2 separate regions of the Homo sapiens genome follow, and region 2 is linked to region 1. Evidence: promoter capture Hi-C in 16 types of primary human blood cells and fetal thymus (Javierre and others, 2016). All regions are on one chromosome and are shown on one strand. Each heading gives the region's core, a stretch centred on a gene start or on the middle of the fragment in contact. The rest is flanking DNA. Distances are from core to core; before and after follow the strand shown.

What was found. The method cuts DNA at HindIII sites, captures the fragments that hold promoters and counts their contacts. A CHiCAGO score of 5 or more calls a contact.
Region 2: a contact is called between a fragment that was not itself captured here and the fragment with the promoter of IFITM10 in region 1, in 1 of 17 cell types (monocytes). The highest score is 5.1, in monocytes.

Annotation. Positions count from the first base shown.
Region 1 is chr11:1,745,796-1,752,770 of GRCh38, forward strand. IFITM10 (interferon induced transmembrane protein 10) reads right to left here and starts at 4,800. Exons shown (of 3, transcript NM_001170820.4): 1 at 4,564-4,800; 2 at 1,872-2,324. The coding sequence starts at 4,647. It overlaps CTSD (cathepsin D), which reads right to left. Exons shown (of 9, transcript NM_001909.5): 9 at 6,960-6,975. RefSeq lists enhancers at 3,100-3,855, 3,856-4,611. The HindIII fragment of the contact is 9,148 bases long and covers 1-6,975 here.
Region 2 is chr11:1,814,294-1,821,189 of GRCh38, forward strand. No RefSeq gene overlaps it. Among named protein-coding and RNA genes, the nearest start is that of SYT8, 17 kb to the right of the region's middle. The HindIII fragment of the contact is 889 bases long and covers 2,197-3,085 here.

The sequences.
Region 1 (6,975 bases), core at 3,550-6,049:
CATACACACAGCACACATGCACACACCCTCACACACCCGTGCACACACATTTATACGTGCTATGCACACTCACGTGTGATTACACACACGTGCACACTCAGGTACATACAGACAGTACACAGGCACACCCCACACACACTTGTGCACACACATTTATACGTGCCATGCACACTCATGTGTGATTACACACACGTGCACACTCAGGTACATACAGACAGTACACAGGCACACCCCACACACTTGTGCACACACATTTACATGTGCCATGCACACTCACGTGTGATTACACACGTGCACACAGGTACATACAGCGCACATGCACATACCCTCACACATTGTGCACACACATTTACACACACCATGCACACATGCAATTACACACACATGCACACAGGTACACACACCACACATGCACACACGCCCTCACACACTTGTGCACACACATTTACACACACCATGCCCACCCACGTAATTACACACATGCACACATATGCATTCACATGTACACACATGCAAATACACTCCTGCCTACACACAGTCATACACATGCACACACATGCACACACAAAAATATATGTACACACTCATGCACACAATGCATTCACATGCACACATAGTTACACTCACAGTACATGCCCACTTATGCAATTACACGTGAGTACACACATACACTGACACGTGCTGGCTCACACACAGGCCCCTGTGTCAGAGCCCAGGGATGGATCCGCAGGCCCGAGGTTGAAGGTGCCCGTGCCAGTGGGCAACGCCGGGGTTGGCAATCATGATGAGTCAGGAGCAGGAGGGGAACGCCGACCGCAGTTGCGATGCCGGGCGGGGTGGGGCTCGAGCTCAAGGATGGAGCAGAGGCGAAGCTGGCCAGGCGTCCTTCCTCCCAGCCAGCCTCTGCCCAGCCTCTTCTCTCCCTGCATCCCCTGTCTTCTCCCCCACCCGGCAGGGCAGCTGCATTGGTGGAGTACATCTGGCCTTGGCCACTCAAGTCTGGGCTGGGGAAATGTGATGATGAGGCTAAACGTGAGCCAAGCCCTTCCTTCCGGTGCGTCGGGGTGGGGAGGAGGGCACCGGGGCCTGCCCTCGCCCTCACGCTCCCTTCCCCAGGAAGGGCTCCAGCACCAGACACATTGACACACGGCTGCCCCTCTCACTGTGAGCCCATCACAGCCTCCCTCCCACCATCTCAGTCCCTGCTGCTCCACCTTGCCCTCAGGGGGACAGGGTCATGTCTGCCCAGCACCTGCTCTGCTACCAGCCAGCTCTTCTCGCAGCCCTGAGCTGGGGAGGTGCAGGACCTGTTTACACCCCTCTTCCCTGGGCTGCCCTGGCCACCCAGGTCTGGTCTCCACGCAGGGCTTGGCAGAGCTGTGTAAGCACCTGCCCTTGGGCTCCGGGTGAGGAGCTGGATAAGAAGGTGGCCCCTCTTCCTTTCCATAGGGGTAGGATTCCAAGCCCTCTTCAGCCCCACGCTGGCCCCATCCCTGCACACGGAGAAGTGGCTGCTGCCCAGGTCTACGTCCCATGTCCCCTGAGCCTGAGCAACCCCGCCCCCCTCAACCCCCGCTCCCAGCCCCTCCTGCAGGTTCCGCTGAGCTGGCTGAGCAGAAAGCCAGGCCCTGATGGCTCAGGAGAGGGAAGGGCAGACCCCTGCCCGCCCAGACCTAGCCAGTACCCCGACCTCTCTGGGACCCACCATCAGGACCCCTCACTGTCCTTTGATCCCTTGGCCCCTCAACTGCACCTGTTCTACCCGTGTGCTCCCCTGAGAGGGAGAGGGGCCGAGCGCCCACAGCCAGGGACTGTCCTGCCGGCACCACCTCTCTAGCCCGCCCTTGCCCCCTGCCACCGCCCGGGCTCACTTTGAGGGAGTAGGCCAAGGCGATGAAGCCCAGGCAGCAGAAGTTGAGGTAGACGAAGTTGAAGATGGACCACAGGTAATAGTCGTTCACCTCGGTGGTGTCCGGGTAGACCTCGATGACGGTCGTGGGGTTGGTCATCGTCTTCTTCTCGGCTAGGTGCTTGCAGGCAGGGGGCGCGCCGGCAGCCCGCACGCTGTCGGTCTTGCTGCTCTTGGACTCCATGGGGAACAGTGTGGGCGCCATCGGGGGAGAGGCCGAGGGCTCAGGGGCAGGGGCCGCCGGAGCCTGCAGGGCAGGGGGCTTGGACACGCAAGCGAAGCAGCCCTTGGGCGAACCTGCCGGGGGCCTCGGAATCCAGAAGGCCCCGTCCAGGGGGACTCGGGCTTCCTGGGCGCCGTCCGTGGTGCTGGCCGGGTCTCCCAGCGGGGCTGGGCACTGGCCGGGGCCCTGGGCCTGGAGAGGAGAAAGTGAGAGCAAGCTGGGCCCGGCCTACCGGCCAGCACCCACCCTCACGCCCAGCAGCTCCGAGAACAGCCCCAGTGGAGACGGAAATCCCTGCGGGGGCCGCCAGCTGCCAGCCTGCCACCTGCCTCCCCCACCCGCCCCGGGCCTCGGCGGCCACGGACGATGCCAAAGCCCTTCGCAGCAGCCTTGGCAGGGACCTGGGGCTTTCATCACTTCGCCATCTGCGCATAAACACTCACCCACTGACACACACAACAGCACCCCCCGCCCCGAAGCACACCAACGCTGAGACTGACACTGTTGCAAAACACAGAGTGCCCCAGCACCCCAAACAACCCCGCACACACGGGGCGCCGGACCCACAGCGACGCTGCCTCAGCCGCCAACCGGCAGAGCTAGCAGAGCGGCCAAAGCACCTGCCCACGGCGCCCGCGGACACCCGATACCGCCACGGGCACCGCCACGGGCTCCACCGCGGGCTGCACCGCGGGCTCTCCAGACCCCGGGGCGCACCCGCGGGCGCGCTCAGAGCCATTGACGAGTAAACAACTCCCCACACAAGGCGATGCAGGCTCAGCCACGAGCACCAAGAACCGGCACAGGTGCGGGGTCTCCAACTCGTGCGCACCGCCCCCCACCTCCAACCTGGGGACCCCAAGCGCGCACACTTGCCCGGAGCCACGCACCCCCGGGCCATACATAGACGCACAATAACAGGCTGTGAAATGAACACTTCTCCAACGAGGCACCAAGTCGCTCGCGCTCTGCGCCACCCCGCGTTCCCAGCTCCCGTGCGGCGCTCGCCGGGGGGTCTGCGGCCGAGGCTCTGCAGCCCCCAGCCCCATCCGGGTCTGCCGCAGCCCCCCGGACGGCGCCTCCTCACCTACAAGCGACTCCTCGGCGCGCGGCCGGACCCCCTGAGCCTCGGTGCGCGCGTCCTTCCGCCGTCCCGCGGGCCGCTGTCTGTCCACTGATCCGCCTCCCAGCGGCCCAACCTTGAGGGGGTGGGGAGCGCGCGGGGCTCGGCGGCGGCGCCGCTGCCTCCCCCGCCGCCTGCGCTCCCTCCGCAGCGCCAGACCGGCCGCGCGGCTGCAGCCCAGAGCCTGACTCACGGCGGCAGCGGGCACAGCCACCTCCCCGCCTCCGCCTCCTCCTGCCAGGAGGGTGGGGGCCTCGGAAGCCGCGACCCTGGGGAGTTGCAAGGTCCCGCAGGGATGGGACCCCTACAGCCCCCGACCAGGGTGTCCGCGCCACCTCCATCTCCCCGGACCCACTGCGTCTTCCTCCCCACCCCACCCGGCCCCATCCCTCTCGCGGAGCCCCCAGCCCCGTGGAAGACTGGACGCTCCCGGAACCCTCCCCATCTGCCTCCCCAAGAGAGACCCTCTTCCTCTTCCCACTCTCCCCATGGCGCTCCACCCCAGCGCCTGGGCCCTGCTGCCTCCAGGGACCCCCGCCCCTGGGTCCTGCCCTTCTGGCCTGTTGACTCTCAGTTCCAGCAGCTCAGTCCCCTCCTGACGAAGCTCCAGTCCCCTGAGCCCCAGCAGGCCCCCTACCTGACTGCCCGTCTCTGCCCCATCCTGTCCCTAACCAAGTCCACAAGGCCCCCAAGACCACCCTCCAGTCCCTTCCCTCCTTAGCCCACCAAGTCCAGGCCTTCCGGTAAGTTTCAGCACCCCCTACTCTGTTCCTTCCTGGCTGAGCCCACTCCTGCCCATCGGAGCTCCTGCCCCCTTTCCTGGAGTCTGACTTCACCCAGCCGGGGCCCCACTCCAGTTCACTCCCAGAGTCTGGGAGAATGTGGCCTCTCCTGCGCAGACCCCAGGTCATGCTCCATCTGCTCGCAGGGCAAAGTGTCCCGTTCCGAGCTCTGGTCCTGTGCTGAGGTCCTGGCTGCTAAGGACACTTGTCTCCCTGGAGGCTGGTTTACTCACCTGCCCACAGCCTCTCTGTGATCCCTACCAGCCCTTCTGAGCCTGGTCCCCTGAGGATACTTTGTTCCCTGTGAATCATTTTTCCTGACCAATGCCTGTCCTCCCAGCCTCAGCCGCCTCCGCTACCCCACCACATCCTCACTCTCACGGTATGCTTGACGCCAGCTGATCTTCCATCCCCATAACAGTCCCCATGAGTTCCTCCCCATGGAGAAAACTCCAGCCTTCCCTCCCTCCCTCCAAGTCCCCCACTTCACCACGCAGGTTCCCTGAGCTGGGTCCTCTTCACCAACCTCCAGCTCCCACTGAGCCTCGACCCTCTCCAAAGTCCCCCGGAAGCTGAGGATGCATGGCGGCCCCCGTTTTCCCTCCCTCATCTCTCTCCAAGCCCCATCCTCCCATGAAACTCCTTTCTCCTCTGCCACTCTCAACTGGCCTCCTGTGTCTCCGCAACCCTCTTTCCTGTCTGGAAGGCCAGTCCTGCTTGGGGTCCTGTCTGCCTGCCTGTGCCTGACTCTGAACCCTTTCTCTCCCCAAACCTCTGTTCTGAACCCTAATCCCCTGGAAAAGCCCAGCCCTCTGCAAGCCCCTCCTCTTTCCAGCCTAGTCCCCGCCCCTCATGCCTGGGCTGACCCGGGCACAGTGTTATCCACAGCACGCCAGGAACCCACAGCACAAGGCTGATCTTAAATGATGTTGATAAACCCTAACGAGCAGGAGGGGTCATGAAGCATGAGGAGCCTCCTCCTCGTCTCCTTGGGCACCCTGGCCATGCTCTCCCTGGAGCCCACAGGCCGTGGGTGGATGGGGCCTGTCGGAGAACCAGGGTTCCGTTCTCCCTCCCCAACTCCCTCCTCCTTTCCAAGGGCCTGGCCCAGGGAAAACTGGACCCGGTGTCCTCAGACGGGGCCTGATCCCAGGCTGAGTGTGGCCTGTGTGCCATGCCCCCATGTCTCCCCAGCATCTGAGCTGGGCTTACCCGGCCAGCCACCACCTTCTGGGAGACCCTGGCCTGCCACACAGCCTCTGCCCAGTGCTGCCCCACCCCAGTTTGCCCTGAAGGCCTCAGGCAGTGAGGAGGCCTCCATAGCAGGAGAGGGTTGCCTGGGCCCGAGGGTCCAGGGCCTGCCCAGGGTCACTGGGTAGGTGACAGGGGAGCCAGGGCCTGCTCCCGGCCTCAGGCCACCTTGGGGCTGCCTCTGAGGCCAGGAAACACCACTGAGAGGGAGCCAGGGGTCGCAGGGCAGAGCCAGGGCCGAGCCAAACTTGGCACAGCCAGCATTCATGTGACTGTTGGTGGGCTCCCCAAGGGCCTGGGCTCCAGCTTCCCCTTTGCTAGGGGTTTCTGGTTACAACCCACAGTCTAGACAGGGGGGGACTCCAGGCTCAGGGTCCAGTCACCAGCTAGAAAACCACGGAGGAACCCGGGGTCAGACTCCAGGGCCCCGAGAATCCTGCCGGGCTGGAGGGAGCCCTCGGAGCAACCCCAGGGCAGCAGCCATGAAGATGGGAGCTGGACGGAGCTGACAAGCTGCAGAAGGAGGGAGATGGGGAGAGTGGGACAGGGCAGGGACAACAGGGTATGGCTGCCTCCTTGTACCTCTCTGCCCTCCCAGGCCTCAGTGCACAAAGCATCTGATGACAGGACATTTGTCTCCCCAGAAGCCCTGCCAGGCCCTGCAGAGTTCTGCCCAGCTCTGCTCAGATTTCAGGCATGCCAAACGCCAGGCATGTGTTTCCAAGCCTCCGTGCCACCCTGGGTAAATGTTCTTGCTCCAGGTGTCTGCCGTAGCATGGCTCTGGGGTGAAAGCCCTGCAGCCCCTTGGGAGGAAGGCCAAGGCAGCCACCACCCTCAGGCAGAGGCATCAAGATAATGGCAAATGTCACATCTGCCTCATCTTCTAACCTGTTGGGGTGGGGCTCGAGGGGGCTCTAAGTGACTCCAGAGCTACTGATCCCAAAAGGAACTCTGCTCCCACCACCACATGCCCACAAACTCCTACTTACCTATTAGAACCCCAGGGGCTGCTACCACTGCATCCGGGCACACGCTCCCAACCCCTCCCCTCCCAGCGGAACAAGCGCACCGCGTTATCAGCCCGGGGATCCGTGACTGTGGCAGCTGTGGCTGGAGGGGACTTCTGAGTCCAATCCCTGCAACCAGGGACCCTGGGCAGGCTTGCTTGGTGCCAGCTCAGCTCACTGCACACAAAACCGCTTCTAGGGCCTGGGAGGCAAGAAGGCCCAGCTAGGCCAGCCCCCCCACGCCACCTGGGGCCATTTATTTCCCGGGACAAGAGGGCTGAGGAGGGTGACTGGTAGGCCTGCTCTGAGGGTCCCCGAGAGCAGAAATAGCCTCTGTTCGAGTGCCGTGGCTGCCTGGCTGGGCCACCTCCCTGAAATCACTCCTCAAGGCTGGCACTCACACTAGACACCCTGAAACCCCAGCCAAGGCCACATCCTGCCGGCTACTGCTCCAGACCTGGGAACAAGTCAGTCCCCGCTGGCCGACCAGGCTGGAGCCCATGGGCTGGGCAGGGCAGGGCAGGGGGCCATAGGCCCGGGGCACCCCAAATGCTTGTCCCGGTGCTGCCGAGTCAGCTGCCGTGCTGGCTTCGCACTACCCACCCTCCTTCCCCATCCCAAGTTGGAGCCACCCCTGACCAGGCACAAGAGCACACCAGCACAGAGGGGAGGCCGGAGG
Region 2 (6,896 bases), core at 1,391-3,890, 66 kb after region 1:
AACAGCCTGACTAACATGGTGAAACCCCATCTCTATTAAAAATATAAAAAATTTAGCCAGGCGTGGTGGCACACACCTGTAATCTCAGCCACTTTGGGAGGCTGAGGCAGGATAATCACTTGAACCCACCCGGGAGGCATAGGTTGCAGTGAGCCGAGATTGTGCCACTGCACTTCAGCCTGGGTGACAGAGTGAGACTCTGTCTCAAAAAAAAACAAAAAGAAGATCCCATCTCGAGCTACAATCACATCGTTAGGCACCGAGAACTAGGATTGCAACATGTGAATTTTGAGAGGACACAATTTAGCCCATAACACAACTGCTCAAAGCGCATTTGGGAGGTTGCAGAAGTGAAAGGATTTCTGTGTCCCCAAACCGGGGGCCCACAGGGGCCGCCTTCTCTATGACCAGACCTCATGCAGAAAGACTTTGATTTGAAAGTGAGATCAGACCCGTCTCCTGGAGGCTGCAAGCTCCGGGGGAGTCAGGAATGGAATAGGATCTCAGGTCCTTGGGCAGCACCCGACCCCCGACGGCAGCGCCAGTGTGTCCCAAAGAGGAGCCTGCAGGGAAGAGATGCTGATGTTGAACGGGGCCAGGCCATGGTGCATGGCGAGCCTGAGTGGCACTGTGTTAGGACAAACAAGAAATCCTCCCCTTGCAGAAGGCTCTGGGCCTGGGCCTTGCCTGTGTCCCCTCCCCTGCAAGGAACCACCCTTCCTCCATGGAGGGGCAGCTTGGTGGGCCTGTCCATCAACTGGTGGCTGTGGCCATGCTCCCCGAGAAGGAAGACCGTGTCATTCCAGGGACTGCTCATGGGCTCCCGGACCAGGAAGCCTGAATGGGCTCTTTGGTTCTTTCTTCTGGTCTGACGGCTGCCCCTCCTTCCAATAAATGCCCTCTTTTCTTCCTGGCTTAAGTTCGCCAGCTTCAGTTTGTGTTATTGCAACCAGAGAGCCTTAACCATCCCCAGGGCTCTGTGATGATTCCACTGGAATTTCCCGGTGGTGGTGGGGCACTGAGGCCCTGGGGAGGCTACGGCCCTAGGAGGCTGGGCCTGGGGCATGGGCGGCCAGGAGCCTGCTGGGTGGCTGGGCGCTCTGGGCATCACGTCCAGGGCCTTCCCGGGAGAAAGGCCAGATACAGGCCCAAACACCAAGCTCTTTCCCTCCCTTCCCCAGGAGAAGGGCCCCATGGGAGCAGGGGTGTCTCCTTCCATAAACGGACAGGGGCTGGGCTCACGTGTGAGTCCCCTAGAAGGGGTGACAACTTCTGGCCTTTCTGAGAATACTCCAGGATGACAAGGTGGGGAGATGTGGAGCTGCAAGAAGTGCTAGCATGTTCCTCGGGAATGAGGAGATCTCAGAGTCATGAGGGCTTAACCCACATTGTAGTGGGCCCAGGAATGGGACTAACTTCTGGATAAACTCAGGGAGAATGCACCAGAAGACAGCAGCCCACAGAGCTGCCTTGCCACGCATTCCCGGGATGAAGGCAGCTGAGGCAGGAGCTCTAGGCTGGCTAAGAACACAGGTGTCATCCAGGACCACTTGATGTCAGCTGGGGCCACCCAAACTGCCTCAAAACCTACAAACGGTGGCTGTGTTGGCCATGCATGGGGCACCCCATGTAAGAGCAAATGGCGCAGGTGACCCACCTGTTGGAGTGGGTCTGGTTGGACAAACCAAGGGGTGTCCACGCTGGGGAGCCTCTGTGGCTGACAGTGGGTGAGAGGCTCTGGGCAAAGCTGTGGCTGGTCTCCCAGACCCGTGTCTGGGGCACTCAACATGGGGCAGACCAGATGGGGATTAACACACTGTCGTTTACTAAGAAAGGTTTTGGGGTGTGAATAAATATCTTTTAAAAGATGGAACTGTCAATCAAAGCTTGCAAAAAGAGACCGGGCGCCATGGCTCATGCCTGTAATCCCAGCACTTCGGGAGGATGAGGCGGGCAGATCACATGAGGCTAGGAGTTTGAGACCAGCCTGGGCAACATGGCGAAATCCCGTCTCTACTAAAAATACAAAAATTAGCCAGGTGAGGTGGTGGGCGCCTGCAGCCCCACCTACTCAGGAGGCTGAGGCAGGAGAACGACTTGAACCCAGGAGGCGGAGGTTGCAGTGAGCCGAGATCACACCACTGCACTCCAGCCTGGGCAATACAGCAAGACTCTGTCTCAAAAAAATAAAAATAAAGCTTGCAAAAAGGGGCAAGGGGCACCTGAAAGAGACAGCAACCAGGATGCTGAGCAACCTGCCTGTGCCCTGTAGTTTTTTCAGTCATAAAACAGTTCACATAAAACAGTTCACAGTCATAAAACGGTTCAGATAAACGTATGCACTCCAAGAAGTCAAGAAAGAAACTTAAAATCCTGTAGGTAAATTAGAAATATCAGTATGATTCCATGATATATTTACCTTTAAAAATATATATTTCCAGCTGGGCCACAGTGGCTCACTCCTGTAATCCCAGCACTTTGAGACGCCTAGGCGGGTGGATCACTTGAGGTCAGGGGTTCAAGACTAGCCTGGCCAACATGGTGAAACTCTGTCTCTACTAAAAATACAAACATTAGTTGGGCATGGTGGTGCATGCCTGTAATCCCAGCTACTCAGGAGGCTGAGGCAGGAGAATTGCTTGAACCCAGGAGGTGGAGGTTGTAGTGAGCTGGGATCATGCCACTGCACTCCAGCCTGGGTGACAGAGCAAGACTTTATCTTAAAAAAACAAAACAAAAAAAAGTTATTTCCTAAGCCAGTCAAAAAAAGAAAAAAGAAAAGACAAATACTGTATGATTCTATTTGTATGAGGTCCCTAGAGTAGTCAAATTTATAGTGACAGAAAGTAGGATGGCGAGTGCCAGGGGCTGGGGGAGGTGGAGGGGGAGTTGGATTTAATGGGAGCAGAGCTGCTGCTTTTCGAGACAAAAGGCATTCTGGAGCTGGATAGTGGGATGACAGCAGCGCGAATGTACTGAATGCCACGGAACTGTGCACTTAGAAGATGGTAAATTTTGTTACACATATTTTACCACCATACAAAAACTGGAAAAATAGGTCTTGCCTAATTCTGTCCACAGTAAAAGCTTAGAAACAATGAAAATAGACTAGTAGCAATGAGCACCCTGGCACCCAAAGTGGGACCTCTAAATACCCACCAAACTCCCTTCAAAAAGAACCGTGAACCCTTGGAGAAATGACTGGTTCTGGGCTGAGCCATGACATAGCCATGACATAAGATAAACCTGGAACTTCTCATTGCATCAGAAAGCTAAGAAACAATCAAAGACTACTGAGGTCATTTCAAGATGACATACCAGTCAACTTAAATGTATCCCCATTGACCAAATGTGGGACCACATGGTCACCAGTAAAGACAATAAGTTCAATGAATGGAAGGGCATTGTGTCAGGCACACCCTAATGCGGCCTCCAGTGAGTAATGGCCTTATTTAATCCCCTGCCCTGAGGCAGGGCAGAATCTGTGATTTTTCTTTGACTGAGAGATTAAAGCAAAAGTGAAGAGACTTTGCAGATATAATTAAGTTCCTAACCAGTTGACTTTGAGTTAATCAAAAGGAGATTTTTCTCAGTGGTCCTGACTTAACAGGCAAGCCCTTTGTAAGAGAGTCTAGGGCTTCTCTGAAGTTAGAGACTCGAAGGGGCAGAGACCCTCTCTCTCTGTTGCTGGCTTTGAAGGAGGAAGCTGCCATGAATTCTGCAACTTCATGGAAATAAGTTCTGCCAAAACCTAAATGAGCCTGGAAGCTGCTCCCTCCCTAGTTGGGTCTCCAGATGAGAACACAGCCTGGCTGACAGCTTGATCTCAAGCTAGTGAGACCCTGAGTGAGGAATCTGGCTAAGCTATACCAGGACATCTGGCATACAGAAGTGCATATACTAAATGGGAGCTTTATGTTTGTGGCAATTTGTTCCACAGCCATTGAGAATTACTGCACACATTCAATACAGTACATTTAAGTAATATACTTCAATTTATGATTTCACAATAATATATATTTAAAATAATCAATATTTTTCTCTGCCTTCCCTGTACCAAATATTTGATGTGGGAAAGTGTATCTTTAGAAGAACTCTTGCAAATAAATGCTGAAGAAATACCAAGTTTAGAAAATTGCAATTTTGCAACCCCTAATGAAATGATGGATCTAGGGCAGTGGTCCTCAACTGGGGGCAGTTTTGCCCCTCTGGCAATATCTACAGGTATTTTTGATTGTTGTAACTGAGAGTTGCTGTAGGGATCAGGGATGCTGACAAATATCCTAAAGTGCACAGGACAGCCCCACAGCAAACATTATCTGGCTGGGTTAGAAAGACCCTAAGGTGAACCACAGTGATTTCTGCTTCCTGTTGGCTGTGCTTCTGTGTTGTCCCCTCTCCTTGAAAGTGTTAACCAACAGAATATGGCAAAGGTGGTAGATGTCACACCTGGGATTATATTATAGTATATAATATTCTGGAGTCACTCTCTCTGTCTCCTGCTGGCCTTGAAGAAGCAAGAGCCATGTGTGAACTGCCTTTGAGGGGCCCACAAGACTGGGAACTATGGGTGGCCTGCAGGAAGTGAGGACCTCAGTGCTACAACCACAAGGACCTGAATTCTACCAACAAGCTAAGTGAATGCAAAGCAGGCCCTGTCCCAGTTGGACCTTCAGATGAGAATGCAGCCCCAGCTGACACCATGGGATCCTGAGGTAGAGAACCCAGCTAAGTTGTGCCCCAGGCTTCTACCCACAAAAACTGTGAGATAAGAAACATGTGTTGTTCTAAGCCACTAAGTTTGTGGCAATTTGTTCCACACCATAGAAAACTAACAGCCTGGCCCCAAATGCCCACAATGCCAAGACTGAGAAACCTAACTTAGGGCTTGTTGTTGTGGTTGTTTTCTACAAGGGCTGAGTTGCAAACACATCTGTCTTTGCAGGCCATTTGCTCTCTGTCATTGTGTCTGTTTTTTATCACTGTGTAATAAATCACCACAAACCCAGCTGTGAAACAAATCCTGTGCATCCTGTGGAACAGAGCTCTGGGCATTCCTGTAGGGCTTTTTCCTTAGGTCCTCACTGGCTGAGAGCAGATGCCAGCCAGGCTGGGCTCCTCTCTGGAGGTGCTGGGGAAGACTCCACTCTCGGGGCATTCACGGTGTGGACACAATTCGGTTCTTGTGTTTGTAGGTCCCCATCTTCCTGCTGGCTGTAGGCAGGGTGACTCTCTGCAGGAGGTCGTGCTCAGTCCTTTCCCCTGGTTCATGGAGAGCCTTCCTCGAGGAGAATCACTGTGAATCCCTCTCAATTTCTCTCCTACCACCAGCTGGGGGGTAAAAAAAACAACCCAAACTCTGCTTTTACAGGGCTCATGGGATTCAACCAGGCCCACCGTGATCCTCTCTCTATTTTAAAGTCAACTCATCAGCAGCCTAAACTTTATCCGCAAAATGCCTTTTGCCAGACAACATAACACACTCACAAGGGTGAGAATTATTCACAATTCTGGGAATCACGGCACAAAGTCTGGGGGGACCTTCTTGGAATCACCACAGCCATGGTACCATGAAAGCAGTCACAGATGGTACATAAGTGAATGAGTGGGGGCCATGTTCCAATAAAACTTTATTTACAAAAACAGATGGGGAATAAGATTTGGCCGGGGGCGACTGTAGTTTGCTGACCCCTGTTCTAGGAAATGTCACCAGCAGCTGCTAAAACCATGAAAAGAAAAGCCACTGGGCACTTAGTGGCTTATGGCTGTAGCTGGCTACACCCAAACCTACTCACTGATCAGCCCCATATCCCAGGAGGAAGTTCCAGGACATCCAGTGCCTCCCGCCATGCACAAAGGAAGTGCCATCTCCCTCCATGAAGCGGCCTTGCCAAAAGGCTTGACCTTACACTGATCAGGCCTCAGCACTATAGAGTAAGGAAAGACACCTGAAACGCTGTGTTGCGACTTGTGAAACCCAGAATGTTGGGAACTCCTTAGGATGAGCGCCCTTGCTTCTTCAACAAATAAGTGGCAAGAATGAAAAGACAGAGGCACTAATTGATCAAAGGGGGCTCCAGAGGCGCAGGAGCAAGATGGCACATGAGTTCCATGTGGGGTGACTTGAAGACACCATCCGTAAGATCCATTGATGAGACAATGGGGGAAATTTGAGCCCTGTCCAGGTTTGATCATATTTAAGAATTACTGGTATTTGTTTAGCTGTGAAAATGGATTTTTGAAAAAGCGTTCTTATCTTTTGGGAACATGAGAAGAGAGACAGAGGCCCACTGCGGCTTGCTATAATAAAAGGAATCTAGAGAGGGTGTTGCAGGGTGGGAGGCACTGGCTGGCTGTTTGGCGGTACTCATGGAATCTAAGGAAGCCTTGGAATGTTTCTGTGTGTGTGTAAAATTCTCCCAATAGAGGGTTTGGGAATAATCTGCCTTCAGACTACAAGGCAAGCTTCAAACGGAAAGGCCCAGGGGCCAGGGGAGCCCCTCAGAGCTGTGGGTACCTGGCTTTCTCTCCACCAAGCACTCCAGGTAAACATGGGTTGTGACTTGTTACGGAGAAATTGCCCCTGGGCATTTGTGAGTCAGGGATGCTGTGTGCCAGAGTGTGGCCAGCAGCAGCTTTTAGGACTCCTTCCCTCCATGTGGCCCTGGGGGCCACTGTTCAAGTTCCCAAGGGACAACCCAGCTTCCCTCCACCTTGGCCTTGGCAGCTGAACGCCTAATTCCTGAGAAGCCTAAAATCACCCAGGGACCGCCCAGTGGGTCTTAAAAGTTTGCTCCTGCACCATCCTACTCACTCAGCACAGCTACAAGCTGCAACAGATATTCGGTACATAGGAGCTTGAGAACAACGGGGCCACACCTACAATGCGGCAGCTT